Regions from separate parts of the Homo sapiens genome. Here region 2 is linked to region 1. Evidence: promoter capture Hi-C in 16 types of primary human blood cells and fetal thymus (Javierre and others, 2016). All regions are on one chromosome and are shown on one strand. The core of a region is centred on a gene start or on the middle of the fragment in contact, and the rest is flanking DNA. Distances in the headings are between cores, read along the strand shown. Region 1 holds the start of RRM2 (ribonucleotide reductase regulatory subunit M2). Region 2 overlaps KIDINS220 (kinase D interacting substrate 220).

Region 1 (5,382 bases), core at 1,305-3,804:
GGGTTCACTGCTGCCTCTGCCTTATGTAACTCCTACTAAGTCTTATTTGCCTATACTATACTGCAGGCTTCTTAGGAGGCAAGTCCTCCCCGTCCATCCCACTGCAGCCCCACATTCTAGCTTCTCAACAACTTTACCAAATGAGCAAAGATGGTCAGACATAGGTTTTAGTTTGTCTTACCCAACATCTAGGAATTTTTTCAAAAGAAGGTTTTACATTGGTAGACATCCAACTTTAAAAGGAGTACCTTCACAACTCTAAGTGAATAATAAAGTGCATTTAGGCCCCTTGCTAAGAGCAGACATGACCACGGGTGCTGGGAATGCCTATGACTGTCTTAGTCATTCTGGAGTCATTTTTATCCCTAGGTGAACTAAAAATGTGTAATAAATCAACAATTAGTGAGTCCTAAAAATCTTGGCATACCACTTGAATACTCACCTTTCTTTGGGATCTTTTATGTAAGTGTCAATAAGAAGACTATACATTTCAGAATGTATGTTTTCCATGGCAATTTGGAAGCCATAGAAACAGCGGGCTTCTGTAATCTGAACTTCTTGGCTAAATCGCTCCACCTAGTGGCAAAACACATCAAAGTTAAGCTTGAGAAAAAACCAACAGCAGCAACTGTCAACGGATACTGGCAGCATCGCACTCTTTGTACCATTATAAGGTTTATTTCTATATATATTTCATCCAATTTGTCACAATTCTTTGATATTTTATGTCATATGCTCAACTTACATATCAGGAAATAGATACATATAAAATAGGATTTGTGAGCGCTCGATTTCCTAATTAATTTATGTCAAGAAAGATCCATTCGCAATAAGAGATACAACCAAATTATTATTAAAACAGCAAAGCCACAAAAAGGAGGGAGCAGAGCCGGGCGTGGTGGCTCACGCCTGTAATCCCAACACTTTGGGAGGCCAAGGTGGGTGGATCACCTGAGGTCAGCAGTTCGAGACCAGCCTGGCCAACATGGTAAAACCCTGTCTCTACTAAAAATACAGATATTAGCTAGGCATGGTGGCGCACGTCTGTAATCCCAGGTACTCATGAGGCTGAGGTTGGGGAATCGCTTGAACCCAGGAGGCGGAGGTTGCAGTGAGCCAAGATCACACCACTGCACTCCAGCCTGGGCCAGAGTGAGACTCTGTCTCAAAAAAAAAAAAAAAAAGAGGGGGCAGATGTGGTGGCCACAAAGAGTCATCACATTGCTACCACTTAATATTGTCTCAGCTTCTCTAGAGTCGGGAAAATACCATAAGAAAGAACTGCAAAGTGTTACAAAACAGGAAATGCCATGTAATATAAAACCCAGCTTACACACACAGATGCACTCAGCATGGAAAAACATACAAGACGAGGAAAGCGAACTAGTTCGACCTCAGATCGTCAACGTCAAATGAATGAAAGATGTTTTGGAAACTCACCAAGTTTTCATTTACTATGCCATCGCTTGCTGCAAAGAAAGCCAGAACATGGGATATAAAATATCTCTCCTCGGGTTTCAGGGATTCCCAGTGCTGAATGTCCTTGGAGAGGTCCACCTGAGGTTCGGAAGTCACAATTTTAGCATAAAAGGAAGAGAGTAAAGCCTACAGGACTCACACTGAGCACTCAAACTTTAAGTATGCTGGCACCACTTACTATGCCCCACAGTTAGCCCCCCTTGCCAACGGGAACCTCCAAGTGCATTTATGTCTGAGGCGTGACGGTCACCCCTGCAGGGGTCTTCTGGGGTCCTCCGATTACCTCCTCGGCGGTCCAAAAGGAAGCCTCTGCCTTCTTATACATCTGCCAGATATCATGGTACTCGATGGGGAAGATGACAAAGCGGCGGGGGTTTTCTCTCAGCAGCGGCTCATCCTCCACGCCGGGGGCAGCTGCTTTAGTTTTCTGTTGGGGGAGAAAATAAAACATTTAAGTACCGGGCGAACCATATGAAACTAACGTTTTTCTGGACCAAGTCCTTTCCATTGGCGGCAATTTCACGGGGCCCGATGTGAAAACGTGGCTGTCCCGTCGCACTCCGTGGGTCGCAGCAGAGGAGCGCACGCCCGAACCGGGAAATGGGCCGAGGGGCGCGGGAGGCAGCCCTGGGGAGGGGCCGCCTAGGCGGGAAAGGAGCCGGGGCGGGAGTGTGAACAGCTGAGGAAACAATGCGGCTTTGGCGCCAAGACGCCCAAGGCCGTCCCTGGCCCCTCTGCCCCACGCCCGCCACTCACCGGCTCCGTGGGCTCCTGGAAGATCCTCCTCGCGGTCTTGCTGGCCAGGACGCGGGTCCCGCTCAGGGCCGGCGGCTGCGGGGAGACGCGTGTGAGTGAGGAGCGGCTTCGCTTTCCCTGCCTCCCTCCCCTGCCCGCAGCGCCCTCCCCGCGGGCTCACCGTGTTCTCCTTGTCGACCAAGCTGAGCCCCTTCAGCGGCGAGAGCTGCAGCTGCTGCGGGTCCGTGATGGGCGCGAGCGGGACACGGAGGGAGAGCATAGTGGAGGCGCAGCGAAGCAGAGCGAGCAGCCAGGACAGGACGGCTGGGACAGGGTGCACGGGCGACCCCTCACTCCAGCAGCCTTTAAATCTCCCGCGCCGCGCGCTCCCGGCCCTTCCCATTGGCTTTGGTGCCCCGGCCCTTCCCATTGGCTGTGCCATGCCTCCGACCCTTCCCATTGGCTGCGCCTTGCCCCTACCCAGGCTGGCCGCGGGGCCGCGCGCGATTTTCAAGCGCAGCGCGGGAGCCTCCGCCGGCGCCTTCCGGAGACCCCCGGGGACACCCCCGTGGACGCCCCCCGGGACCTCCCGGTTCCCCCCCCGGCCCGTCCGCTGGCTGGGTCGGGGGCGCCGCCGCCCAGGCCCCCACAGGTCCCGCGGGACCAGGGCCGCAGCCCCTGAGGGTCTCGGCGGCCTTGGCGCGCGCGGGCCCCGGTTCGCCCGGGAACCGTTTAGGATTGCGTGAGGAGCAGCGATTGGAGCCCGCGGGCGCGAGAGGATCCCCGGGCCGCGGCCCCGCCTCCCGAAAGCACCTCCTCCCAGCCGGGCCGCCGCCGGGCAGGGGGCTTAGCCAACGAGGTTGGTGCAAAGGCCTGGAAAACGCTCCTGGGTGCGGGGGAGGCGTTGCTGCGACCCTTTCGATCCGTGTCCCTGCGGTGGGGGTGCAAGGGCCCCGAGGCCTGACATTTTGGCGGGGTGGTCGGCGAGGACCCTACAGCCTAAAAGTTAGGGCCGCTGAGCCCCGTGGCTCGTTTTGCTGGGACAAGCGACCAGGCTTCTTACAGATTCGGTGTCCCCGTGAGTAAAATGGGACTCGTAACCGCGTGGACTGTTAATGCGGTGAGGAGAGCGTTCGTTGAGATGACTCATGTAAAATGTGCAGTCCTTTGTAAACCTTCAAACTACGGGACATGGCGAGAAGGCCCTTGGTGCAGTTTTCCACAGAAATCCTGTCTCCTGTCAGACCCCTGACCCCTATTGTCACCCTTGCCTTAAGAATTGCAAACTGTGGCTGGGCGCGGTGGCTCACGCCTGTAATCCCAGCACTTTGGGAGGCCAAGGCAGGAGGATTGTTTGAGGCCAGGAGCTGGAGACCATCCTGGGCAACATAGTGAGACCCCGCCTCTGCCATTAAAAAGAGAAGAAAAAAAGTTGTTTTAATTGCAAACTGAGCAAAAATTCCTGGGAGAAAGTTCACAGAATGATTTTAGGACTAGGAATTAATGTACTACTCATTGGGCGTCAAATATGCTGAAGAGGAGTTTGAAAACTCCACTGGTGTAGAGACTGGAACTTAGCAATAGCTTTCATTTAATTTTCTATGTGGCTTTCTGATTTGCCAGGCCCTGCAACGGGCAAAATGCCAAAAATAAAGGAAGAGAAAGAAACTTTAAGATCCAAGAAAGAAATCATTAACCTGAGAAAGCTTCAACAGCTGCGCTCAGGGCTGTTATTGAGAGAGACCCGGGACTTTTTTTTTCACAAAGCCTTTTCTAGATAAGATACTTTAAAGAGGGTGGGGTGGGACAGGTACCCTCCCCACCTAGGTCTGTTTCTCTCATTTCTTAAAAGTACTACGGACTTGTAAATCATAGTATTCTCGTGTTGCAGGAATAAGTGCCCATCACATTCCTTACACAAAGCCACAACTAAAACTTTGGTGTACCATGATTTGTTTAAAGCAACTCGCCATTCATCGCCATTTTCACCCCAAACACACTAAAGCATCCATCTCCAGGAAACTGGTATTTTTATTGATTACTTTATGGCTGATAAAGCTATTATCTAACAAAATTATAATTTATTGGTGTCATCTCATACTCAACTCAGATTTCAATTTCCCATAATCAGCGTCTAAAACCCTCGTTTCGGTTGCCCTAGGGCGCCACGTGCTTTTTTGCTCCTGTTAAACTCACTGTAACTGAAGTAGTCAGAGGTGGCTTCATTGATAGTTTAGTTCCTGGCCACGTAATTAACATAGCCATTGTAGAAGACGCCGAAAGATGCGTACGTGTTGTTAAAGGCCGGGTGAAGTCGCCATCCTCCCCTCCCGCGCTAAACCTGAGTCATCTCGGCGTGGCCCTCCTGCCCCCAGGTCCGGCAACTTTGCCCCGCTGCGGAGGAGGTGGCGGCGCCCAGGGCCACGCGGCAATGCGGGCGGTTCCGCCTCCGGGGAGGTCGGGCGGTGCAGCCACTCCCGGGAGAGCGCCCGCCGCAGGCTGCTGCTAGCCCCGGGATTCACTCCTTTTTCCCTCGGTGCTCGTTTTTTTGGTTTTATTTAAGTAAACAGACGAGGGTCTCGCTTGTTTGCCCAGGCTGGTCTCAAGCGATCCTCCCTCCGCCTCCCTAAGCGTCGGGATTCCTGGCGGAAGCCACTTGAGCGCGCGTTTTGACATCTGCATCTACTCCACCATTGGTCTGCACGGGAGGCCCCGCCCCGCCCCCCGGAAGGCTCCTCTGCATTCCCAGCCTCAGGTGCCCCGCCCCGTTTCCGCTGCGCGCTCGCCGGTTCACACGCCCCAGCCTGGGCAAGTTTGCAGGTCTCAGGCCAAGGTTAGCGCGACTTCCAAAAGGCTGTTCACCATTAGGGTGGAGAAACCGCGGCTCGGGGAGCTCAGCACTCACTGTGTACCAGACGCCGTGCCGAAGGTGGTCATAATAATAATTAAGGCTGCAGCACCCACAGCCTCTGGGCGCCTGGATCATGTGAGGCTGTTTGAGTTTTTTGTTTTTTGTTTTGAGACAGGGTCTTGCTCTGTTGCCCAGTCTGGTGGCTCCATGATAGCTCACTGCAGCCTCAACTATCCGAGCTCAAGCGATCCTCCCACCTCAGCCTCCCGAGTAGCTGGGACTCAAGGCAGGCACCACTACGCCAGGCTAATTTTTTA
Region 2 (5,382 bases), core at 825-3,324, 1.3 Mb after region 1:
CCTCCTCCTAGGCTTCCACGGGCCGGGAGGTGTTGTTTTCTCCCTTGCTTTTATCGTGGGCTCCATTGCTCCATTGTCCTGTGCAGGCTTTTAAACGCCTGGCAAAATAGTGCAAGCCATTGATTTCCACGCCTCCAAGATTTATTTATAGGGAAATAATTTCTTCATCACTTTGTAATGTTGGAATTTTTATTCTTTCAAGTTGACAGGTTTAAACCGATGAAAAATTTTTTTATGAATAACTATGCAGCCATCTCTGCTCCCTATGGGCGCTTGTTAAAAATGTAGATTTCTTAGCGTTTTAGAGATTCCCATTCCTTCGGCCTGAGGTGTGGCTCGGGAATCACCCCTTCAGGTTCGTTCCTGTCCACATTTTGACAACACTGAGGACCAGACATCTACACCTTTTTAAACCACCGTGGGGTATTGAGTGCAGAGCCCAGGTTGGGAAATGCCGTGGCCAGGTGTGTTCTTTGTTCTCTTCTAGCTTTACTAGCATGGACTACTTTCATCAGAATCATTTTGGGGTGCTTGTTAAAATGTCAGTTTCTGGGCACCACCCCAGATCTAGGGAATGGGATTCTCCCGGGGAGGAGCTCAAGGGATATGTGTATTTGACAAGCTTCCCAAATAATTTTGGTGCACACAAGTTTGAGAATCCTTGTTCTACACCCTTTGTGTGAATAATTTCCAGATCATTCACACACAGTGTGAACGGTATCTTTTTCCAAGTATTGGGTGGGTTTCTCCAACCTAGTTCTTTTGGGACACTTCAAATTCAGCCTGGCCAAAGCCCCATTCGCCCAGCTGGGGTGGTGGAAGGGAGGAGGCATAACTTAAGTAGAGAAAAGTCTGCTCTTTCTCCTGCTTTTTTTTTTTTGGTTAAGGGCAGCTCCATTCTTCAGTCACCTATGCTGGGCATCTGGTCATCTTCCACCTGTTTTCTTTTCCAACCAGTCACATAGTTTTATCTTTATATCCAGAATATCTCTTCTGGATATTTTGGTAGTTCAGAAAGTTCAAATGTCAGGGATTTTATATTTTTCAAGTTAATATCCCTCATTTCTTCTCTATTCCCACTGCCTCTCTTGTGTACTGTCTGGTGATTCCTTGACTGGTATCTAGGGCCCTGATTCTTTGTATTTTTCCAGTCTGGGTCACATACACTGCCAGATTAATTTTTATAGGATCATGTATGAATGTGCCATCCCCTTCTTCCTGCTTTTGCTCAAGAACGGTCAGTTTCTCCATTTTATGTGCTACTGTATTTGTCAGGGCTGTTTAGAAGACAGTAGAAACTTAAACCTTTTACTTCAAGGAAAAGGAGATAATAGGATTGAATGAGAGTCAGAAAGAAGTCAGGATCCCAGGTACCTCCATTTTCTACATCTCCCTGGGGCAACTTTTTTTTTTTTTTTTTTTTTTTGAGACAGGGTCTGGCTCTGTTGCCCAGGCTGGAGTGCAGGTGGTGTGATCTTGGCTCACTGCAGCCCTGACCTCCTCTTAGGGGCCACATTTGTTCTCTTACTTAGGAGGAGTCTCTTTTCTGTTCATATCTGTTGTATTCTCTCTTTGCTGATTGGCTGTCTCAGAACTGTATCATTTTATGTGTGACCCATATTGATTGGCCCAGTCTCTGGTTTCTAATTCCCAGTTCTAGAGAGAGAAGTCTGATTGGCCCAGCTTATCTTTTTCAACAGTTTCATGCCACAGATCATATGCCCATCCCTGGGAATGGCTGATGCTAGAGAACATGGCTGTTGAGGGTAGCAGGGGCTGTGGGTGGGCAAAGTCCTTCAGAAGAGGTATCTTTAGCATACCTATGCAGTTATTTAATTTGATGGTTATCTATTAAGTTTCTACCTGTTCTAGATCTGTAATAGGTTCTGGGGATGTAAGAATGAAGGAGAGAGACAGCCCTTAATAAATTAGTTCAAGGCTGGGCATGCAGGCTCACACCTGTAATCTCAGTGCTTTGGGAGGCTAAGGCAGGAGGATCACTTCAGGCTAGGAGTTCAAGAGCAGCCTCGGCAATATAGCAAGTCCTGTCTCTACAAAAATTAAAAATGTAAACAATGATCTGGGTGTGTTGGCATGCACCTGTAGTCCCAGCTATTCAGGGAGGGTGAGGCAGGAGGATCGCTTGAGTCCAGGAGTTTGAGTCTGCAGTGAGCTATGAATGTGCCACTGCACTCCATCCTGGGCAATAGAGCCAGACCCTGTCTCAATAAAAATAAATAACTAAATACATACATACATACATACATATACATACATAAGTTAGTTTATAGGTGACCCGCGAGGGGGGTTTTGAAGGGTGTGTTTTGGCTTGTTAAGAATGTTAAAGTTGGGTCAGGCATTACAGGTGGTTGGATCAGCTTGGGCATGTCCATTCATTCTACCGATACTGGGTTCTGTGGTGTACCAGGCACTTCTCTTAAGTGCTGGAGATTCAGCAGTAAACAAAACAGATAGTCTTTATTCTCATTGAGCTACATTTGTTTGGCTAGGGGAAGCAGACCAAAAACAAAGTATGTGGTATGTGGAGTGATGCTAGGTGTTATAAAGAAGACCTTTAAAGTAGGGCTGTGGAAGGGGGATATAGTAGAGGGGGAGAGGGCTGTTTTATACACGTATAAATGGTATACACCATTTATACACGGTGGTCAGAGAAGCTCTGATCAGGTGACGTATGTACAGAAAGTCACTGTGGCCTGAGTAGAGTCAAGGAGAAGGAGCAGCAAGAGTTGAGCTTAGGGAGGTGGAGAAGGGGTGGAATAGATCAAGCAAGGCCTTGGCCCTGGTAGGGATCTGGGATTTTGAGTGAGAGGACAACCGTTGGGATGTTTTGAGCACAGAATGGTTGTAAGAAGACACGATTCAGGAGGACCACTTAGGCCTCTGTGTGGAGGGGGCAAGCGCTGCCACCCAGGCCCAGGAATGTCAGCACCAGGGTAGGCTCTGGGGACTGCACAGGGGTGATTGTTGCTGGAGACTTAAGTGGGAGGAGGAGAAGAGGGGCTGGAGATAGAGAACCATGGGAGGGGCCACATTCAGGAACTTACTGTGTCGTATCTGGAGGATAAGAAATAAGTAAGCCTTGGGCAGCATGGCACTATTGTTGCTTTCATGCACTGTGTCTGTAACCGGAGAAAAGTTATAGGGTGCGTCTATTAACCGATTGGCCTTTTGGTGAAAGCATTTTGAATACATTTAGAGATTTTGCCTATTAAATTGGCAAGTTCTAAAAATGGACTTACTACAACATAAATTTTTTGTTCTGACATTGCTGTTGGCTACATCTGCCATTTTCAAAACGGGTGGCAAGACATTAATTTTTTTGCTAATTGTGCAAAAGAATGTATAGCCTTATATTCCCATTAGAGAGAAAGTGCTGTGGACATTAGATTCAACTGATGTCCATTTATTCAAGAAATATAGTGTCTTGTATGGGCCAGCTATTAAGCTAAGTGTTGGGTATTTGGTATAGAACGAAAGAAAATAATTCATTCCTTTTAAAAGCTTATATCCTAGTGGGAGAGACAGCTATTAATCAGGTAAATATGTCCCATTCCAGCAGGTGTAGCTAAAAAAAAAAAAAAAAAAGACAAATTTAAAAAACATAAATATGTAAATTACAAGTTTAGTAAAGTGTTATGAAGGAATAAAAAAGATTCCATAATAGAGAACAATCCAGGTTATGAGAATCAACCAAGAAAGGGTGGTTAAGAAATGATCATATTCTGTTATTATGTAAAACAGCTAATATTTATTGGCTTCATATGGGTTAGGTATTATTTTAATCCCATTGCATGTAATTGTGCAGTTATTTGAAGATGGGGAAACTCAGACACTGAGGTGAAGAAACTACCCCAGGGGACAGGGAGTGATAAAGAGAGGCTGGTTAATAAGTACAGACATACAGTTAGGTAGAAGGAGTAAGCTGTAGTGTTCAGCAGCATGGTACTATGCTTAACAGTTTATTGTGTATTTTATTTTTTATGGTATATTTTAAAGTAGCTAGAAGATAAGATTTGAGATGTTCCCAGCACCAAGAAATGAGAAAAGTTTGAGGTGATGGATATCCTAAATACTCTGATTTGATCATCACACATCCTATGCATGTAATCCAAATATTACACATACCCCATAAACATGTACAATTATTATGTATTAGTTAAAAAAATTAAGGAAAAAAAAAAGAAACTAGCCTGGGATGATATAATGGTCAGTAGTAAAGTCAGGAGTCAAACCAAGGTAGTCTGGCTCTAGGGTCCATACTTTTGACCACTAGACAGCTTCGTTTTAAGCCGAAAGGGCTTTTGGAAGTGAACGTTGAACTGAAATGTGAAAGATGAGAAGCTGTAGTTTTCCTCCTGTGATGAAACATTTTTTTTTCTATTGAAAATGAACGTAGACTTAATACATCAAGTAAAACAATATAGCACAAAGACGCGTGAAGGCAAAGCTAATCATCTCCTCCTTTTAGTCCTACATGGTAAGATAACGAATTTTACAGCCAGGTGTGTGTCCTTCCACACTTTTCTTTTTGTTCATGTGTACACACTGGATAGATACATATATGGGGGTCTTATTTATTTTATCAAGTAGAATTATACTACACACGTGCTCTTAAACATGACAGCGTGTCATTGGTTTTACTATTGTGTGTATCAACAGATGTGGATTTAATGTTCTAATTTTATTTTGTAATTTCTAGGCACTTATATATGTGCTTACAAACATCTTATGACATTTAATAATCAATTATTCAGTGAAATTTATTAAACACTGTCAGTGCCCTCTAGTCAAAGACTGCCAGGAACATACCTCTAGTTGAACAAAGTTGGTCTTATTAACTCCCTGCAATGAAGGAGAATGCCTGTCCTAGGGAACGTTGGGGGTCTCTGTAACAGGTTGTTAGAAAGGACTTAGAAGATTCGAGATGATGTTAGGTGATTCGGGGAAGAGTTCAAGGAAGCAAAGCTTTGCTCAGTCTCGGGTGCTTCAGGAATAAGGAGGAGTGGGAATTCTGCAATTGGATATTTAAAATCTTAACGAAAAGGCAAGAGGTATGGAGTAAGGCTAAAGCTGTAATTGATAAAGAAGCAGCAATGCTTCATATTAGCCACGATAGGAAGATGTTTGGGCATTTTGTGGTTTGGGTGATGTTCATGTTTTTGTCTATGTTCAGATATGATTCCAGAGTAGTCTTATTTTTGTCTTCATATCCTGGTGACAGAGTGACCTTGTTTGATGTTGGCATTCTTTGAAATTGTTGCATTTATGTTAGAACACCAAGTCTGGCTGTGTGTGCCGGGTCAGTTCCCGACAGTCAGGGGCTGCTTTTCTCTCTCACCTCCTGTTGTGTAGGCATTGTGC

Evidence for each region. Contacts are between HindIII fragments. The CHiCAGO score rates a contact against its expected background, and 5 or more counts as called.
Region 2: a fragment that was not itself captured here is called in contact with the fragment with the promoter of RRM2 in region 1 in 1 of 17 cell types (fetal thymus); the score reaches 6.2 in fetal thymus.

The regions. Positions count from the first base shown.
Region 1 is chr2:10,119,911-10,125,292 of GRCh38, reverse strand. It overlaps RRM2 (ribonucleotide reductase regulatory subunit M2), which reads right to left and starts at 2,554. Exons shown (of 10, transcript NM_001034.4): 1 at 2,396-2,554; 2 at 2,236-2,310; 3 at 1,763-1,906; 4 at 1,441-1,557; 5 at 443-576. The coding sequence starts at 2,494. RefSeq lists silencers at 2,593-3,093, 2,500-3,099 and enhancers at 3,320-3,429, 3,450-3,519, 3,277-3,832, 3,881-4,823, 4,824-5,382. The HindIII fragment of the contact is 3,317 bases long and covers 606-3,922 here.
Region 2 is chr2:8,831,704-8,837,085 of GRCh38, reverse strand. The region is part of intron 1 of KIDINS220 (kinase D interacting substrate 220); the gene reads left to right. Among named protein-coding and RNA genes, the nearest start is that of KIDINS220, 3.2 kb to the left of the region's middle. The HindIII fragment of the contact is 2,900 bases long and covers 625-3,524 here.